Linked DNA regions of Homo sapiens: region 2 is linked to region 1. The links are contacts of gene promoters, found by promoter capture Hi-C in blood cells and fetal thymus (Javierre and others, 2016). All regions are on one chromosome and are shown on one strand. Each heading gives the region's core, a stretch centred on a gene start or on the middle of the fragment in contact. The rest is flanking DNA. Distances are from core to core; before and after follow the strand shown. Region 1 holds the start of HAPLN4 (hyaluronan and proteoglycan link protein 4). Region 2 overlaps MAU2 (MAU2 sister chromatid cohesion factor).

Region 1 (2,799 bases), core at 190-2,689:
GCCTCTGGTTGGTATGCACGGCTCATCTTCCAGATGGGAAAACCGAGGCTCAGTATGGACAAGAGACCTGCCCAAGGTCATGGCCAGAGAGAAAAGTTCCTGCTCTACCAATAAATCATAACTAATAGCATGATACATTTATTAAGCACCTACTGTATACCTTGACTGCTACATGCTGGATCTCACTCCATATTCCAGATGGGGAAACCAAGGCTGCAGGAGGTGAAGGTCCTGGTCTGAGATCATTCCCCCGCTCAGTCCCCAAGGCATGGCTGAGCTAAGAGATGGAGCCCCAGCCTGTTGGACCACAGAAACCACAACTCTGCCTCTCCTATCTGGTCGGGTTGGGCTCATTTTAGGGGAAACTGAGTCCTGGAAGGAAGCCAAGGTGTTAGGAGAAAGACTCACTGTTTGCTATTGTTTGATTTTTTGAAATTGGGTGAAAGGCCAGGTTTAGGGGCGACTTGGGCCTGGAGTAAGTCAGGGACCTTGACCAGATGTCCCTTTTCCTTTTCTTTCTTTCTTTTTCTTTTTCTTTTTTTTTTTTTTTTTTGAGACGGAGTTTTCACTCTTGTTGCCCCGGCTGATATGCAATGGCACGATCTTGGCTCACCACAACCTCCACCTCCTGGGTTCAAGCAATTCTCCTGCCTCAGCCCCCTGAGTAGCTGGGATTACAGGCATGTGCCACCACACCTGGCTAATTTTGTATTTTTAGTAGAGACAGAGTTTCTCCATGTTGGTCAGGTTGGCCTCGCACTCCTGACCTCAGGTGATCCTCCCATCTTGGCCTCACAAAGTGCTGGGATTACAGACGTGAGCCACCGCGCCCGGCCTAGATGTCCCTTTTTCTTGCCCCTCCCAACCCCTACCGGAGATCTACTGTATGTCTAGCTACTGGATCTTCACCAAAGAGTCAGCAGCAGGCTCAGAGAGGCCAACTGTCTCCTCCAAGGTCTCACAGCCAGTGAGGGGCAGACTTGAATTGGGGCCTGTGGCTCCAGTCCACAGCAGAGTGTGACTATCGTGAGGCCCCCACCCTGCACAGGGAGCGCCTTTGGGGTGCTGGAGACCAGGACTCCACTATGACTACCCAATGGACAGGTGGCCTGCAGGCCAAATGATCTCTTTCACCAGATCCCCCAGGTCCCCTGCCAAAGCACAGTAACCAAGATAGAAGACTCAGCCCCCTCCTCCATTTCAAAGATGGTTAAACTGAGGCTCAGAGAGGTTCTTCCCTGGCCTAAGTTCAGCTAGCAGGGTGAGGGAACTAGCTCTGCACTCCAAGTCCAGAGCGCTTCTTTCTCCGCCCGCGCTCCAGCCACTGCTCCAGGGGAGCGTGGGCCCCCGCGGCCCCTTTAATACACCCCGCCTCGCCCGCCTTCCTCCTCCCCTTGCAGGCAGACGCCGGGATTGCGCCGCCTGCAGGGACCTGCCCAGTCTTAACCGGGTGTGCGGGGAGCGCAGTCCGGGTGCGTAGGGGCCGCTCGGCGGGGGCCGCGCGGGCAAGATGGTAAGTGGGGCTGCGGGCGCGGGTGGTGTGTGCCCCGTCTCCCCAATCTTGGATTCTATATCTCTCTGCCTCTGAATCTATATCCCTCTGAGTTTCTTCTGTCTCTTCCTTTTCTCTGTCTCTCACCCTCTTTGATCTCTCTTTTTGGCACTCTAGGTTCTCTCCCTCTCCATTTCTCCCTGCCTCTCTCCATCTCTGTCATCCTCTCTGCCTTTTTCCTCTCCTCTCCGTTTCTGTCTTTCCCTGTCCCTATCTCTCCCTCCTCTTCTCTGAGTCTCTCTGCCTCTGGCACTCTCCTGTCTCTCCCTCTCCCTTTCTGTCTCTCCCTCTCCCTCTCTGTCGCTCCCTCTGCCTCTCTGTCTCTCCCTCTGCCTCTCTGTCTCCCTCTGCCTCTCTGTCTCTCCCTCTCCATCTGTGTCTCTCCCTCTCCATCTCTGTCTCTTCCTCTGCCTCTCTCTCTCTCCCTCTGCTTCTCTGTCTCTTCCTCTCTGTCTCTCCCTTTCCATCTCTGTCTTTCCCTCTCCATCTCTGTATCTTCCTCTGCCCCTCTGTCTCTCCCTCTGCCTCTCTGTCTCTCCCTCTCCATCTCTGTCTCTCCCTCTACATCTGTCTCTTCTTTTCCATCTGTCTCTCCCTCTCCATCTCTGCCTCTCTCTCTTCCCTTCCCCTTTTTCTGTGTCGCGCACTCTCTTCTCTGCCTCTCCCTGCCTTTCTCTCTGTCCCTGTTCTCTCCCCGCGTCTCTCCCTCTTTCTCTCCAGCTCTCCCCCCTCCCTGCCCGCCCCGGCCCGGTTTGCTGCAGTCTCCTGGCGCACGGATAACCTTGCTGCCGCCGCTCCTCCAGCTCTTCCCCACCCCCCTATCCCCGGCCCGGGCCAGGGCCAGAAGGGGGCGGGGCAGCGAGCCTCGGGTTTTGGGGTGGGGGGGAATGAGGCGGGATCTGGGGCAGGACTGAGGGCGGGGGGGAGTCTAGGGGCGTGGGTTCTTGCAGAAGCTAGGATGTGAGGTCCCAAGAGGAGGAGGGGGAGTTCTCCAGGACCCCGGAAAGGGTGGGGACATGGGCGTGAGAGAGGTCCTCGCTGTGGGGAAGGCAGGCCCGGGAGGGAGCCAGGCCTCCGAAAAGCCAAGGCTGGGAGGCTGGACTGAGCGCCCCGTGCCCGCCCCCCAGGTGTGCGCTCGGGCGGCCCTCGGTCCCGGCGCGCTCTGGGCCGCGGCCTGGGGCGTCCTGCTGCTCACAGCCCCTGCGGGGGCGCAGCGTGGCCGGAAGAAGGTCGTGCACGTGCTGGGT
Region 2 (2,700 bases), core at 101-2,600, 92 kb before region 1:
CCCAGCTGCTGCAGGGACTGATGCTGGAGAGAAAGCTGGGAAAAGTGCTGGGATCTGTGCTTCGTCCCACACTAGCGCCATTACTTCTTCCCTCCAAATTCAGGCCAGAAACTGGCATCCGGGCTCTGGAAATTGCCTTGAGCAGAGGAAACACTCTACTCCCGCTCGGCATCAAGGCCTGGGTGATGGAGAGTCAGGCGTGGTGCCCCTGGGGCACTGCCTGCCCTGGCACACAGGATTAGGACCTGCTGGAGGCCTGCACCCTACTCCTGGCCGACGTGACCCAGATGCTGAGGCAGGACTGGCACTGAGGTCCACTCTGAAGGATGGCTCTGGAGAGACAGCGCCTGTGTGCCACCTGTGAGCCTCTGCACTGGGGGTCCTGCTGCGAGGTGGGAACGGCTACCACCCCTCCTGGGAGGGCAGGGACTGGCCCCGCACATTCCCAGGACTTGGAAGCTCTAGAGACAATCAGGAAGGAAGCACGCCTCGGGGGCAGGCTTGAGTGCCGTCTGGGTGGAAGCCGGAGACGCGCAGGCCCTGCGGAGCTGGATGGCCCCATCAAGGCCTCACAGGAGGCTGGCCAGGCTGGTGTTGGGTCCATTCTGAGCTTGGAACTGCACGGGGGGTGGACCGTCTGTCCACTGTGGGGAGGAGAGGACATGCGAGTGAGGCACTGTGGACCGTTCCCAGGGAAGAAGAGGTTGGAATGCTGCCTTCCTTGGGCTGCTCACACAGCCGGGACTCTGTTCTCCATGCCCCAGTCCAATGGGCCCCGAGGAGACACCTGGGTCCCTTGCTTGGGTGGGGGTGCCCATGGCCATCTCCCCCATCAAGGGATCACCTGAGGCTGAGTTAGGGTTTGTTGGACAAAAGAGAAATACAGCCAAGGTGCCCCTTCCTCTTGCAGGTGGGGAGCCCGCTAGTCCTGATCCCGTCCCCTAACACCCACACCCGTACCGTGATGAGGTTGTGTTCGGGGAGGCTGCAGGCCTCAATGTGGTCCTGGAGCAGCTGCTGCGAGAAGTTCTGGTGCATCTGGGCGGCTTCATGGGCATCCATGGCGTTCCCACAGGCTTTATTCAGGTCTGAGAGTGGGACATGAGCATGGGGGCCCGCCTTGCCCTGTCACTGCCCAGGCCCTCCCACTCGGTGCAGATGGAGCCCTAAGGTCAAGTCCCAGCTGCACTGGTGGATCTCTGGGTGCCTGGCACGTCACTGGACCTGAGCCCTGTCTTGGGATCACAAAGCCCATGCGCCAGCCGCCCTCATAGGGCAGAACAGGGCTGGCTGGGCAGTGAAAGCCCAATGCCAGGCTTCTCGCCAGCCCTCCAGGGAGCCCATGGCCAGCCCTCAGGCAAACAGGCGCTCATTGGGGCAGGACGCCCAATGCCCATCCTGAGGCAGCAGCCCCAGGCAGCCCACTGCACATGGAGCACCCCGTCTCCTGTCACCTCCCCAGGGCCCCAGGCGAGTCTCCGGACCTTAGTTTCGTAATCTGGAAATGGGGGAGCTGCGGTAACAGCAATGATACCCGCTGAGTGCCCGCCCTGCTCCCAGAGCTAGCTGGCCAGCCCTACCCAATAGGTATGGCTGCTGTCTGCCTTTCCGGGAAGAAGCAAGGCTGAGAGCGCCACGGCTAACAGCCCAAGTCTACCAGATACCAAGTCGCAGCCTCTGTGTCCTATAGAGACTGAACCAGACCCCGAGTCAAGCGGATGCCACAAATGCACCCACTGCCCTCAACCAGGGTCTCCTGAGGAGCACCCCCTACCCATGCTAGAACTGGGGCTGCGGCCCACGGAGGCCTAGTCCGAGCTAAGGCTGAGCAGGACATGCCCAGCAGCCTTGATCTCTGGGGAGGGCCAGGCTGGGGCTGGGGAAGAGGGGTGGCCATTGCACTCACCTCTCAGCAGTGCTGACGACCACAGCTGTACCGACATGTCCGGGATCTTGCTGGCGAGCTGCATGGCAGGCACCACCATGTTGTTACTCTCCTGTCAACCAAGAGCAGCAAGGGGGAGTGAGGAGCCTGGACCCCACTTGCCGAACCCAGCCCAGGTTGGGGTGGGGATAATCTGGAACCCACCTACTGAACCCAGCCCAGGTTGTGACCTCCTTCTGCGTCTGGTGAACTCCTATGCTTACCTCAGAGCCCATCTCAAATGGCCCTCTCTGAAGTATCACTGAAAAACAAACTGCCCTCACTTCTGGCTCATGCCCTCACAGGGGCATGGCCAATGGACAACTTTGGGGGCTTCTACCTGTTCAAGCAGAGAAAAAGCACTGATGGCCGTTAGCCCTAGACCCACAATGGGGGCTGATCAGAAATGCAGATTCATATAGGGTTCCAGGTTTCAGGTTCTGAGAAGGGCAGCAGCCCCTCCGGTTTGTCTTCCACAATTGAGTTGGCTCTCATGGGAGGCCCCCGCAGACACGCAGGGGCTCTGGGGGCACCAGCATGTAAGAATCCTCCAATCCGGACTCCCTGCTTTGTGACTGCACAGGGCCACCCCAGTTGCAGCCCTAGCATCCTCAGGATGTGGCAGGAAGAGCTCAGTAAGAGCCATCAGGGCCCATAAATGCCCATCCCTGTTGCTATGGCAAGGGCCTGGAGACGGCAGACAGGAGCCTGTGCTACACAGGCGACCAGCAGTGCTGGACTGACCCTGTCTGGACCGAGGACTCAAAGCCCTGTAA

What was found. Contacts are between HindIII fragments. The CHiCAGO score rates a contact against its expected background, and 5 or more counts as called.
Region 2: a fragment that was not itself captured here is called in contact with the fragment with the promoter of HAPLN4 in region 1 in 3 of 17 cell types (M1 macrophages, M0 macrophages and erythroblasts); the score reaches 7.1 in M1 macrophages.

Annotation. Positions count from the first base shown.
Region 1 is chr19:19,261,444-19,264,242 of GRCh38, reverse strand. It overlaps HAPLN4 (hyaluronan and proteoglycan link protein 4), which reads left to right and starts at 1,439. Exons shown (of 5, transcript NM_023002.3): 1 at 1,439-1,513; 2 at 2,680-2,797. The coding sequence starts at 1,511. The HindIII fragment of the contact is 10,345 bases long and covers 1-2,799 here.
Region 2 is chr19:19,353,652-19,356,351 of GRCh38, reverse strand. MAU2 (MAU2 sister chromatid cohesion factor) reads right to left here. Exons shown (of 19, transcript NM_015329.4): 17 at 1,907-1,997; 18 at 961-1,088; 19 at 1-644. The coding sequence ends at 570. Among named protein-coding and RNA genes, the nearest start is that of MAU2, 34 kb to the right of the region's middle. The HindIII fragment of the contact is 5,642 bases long and covers 1-2,700 here.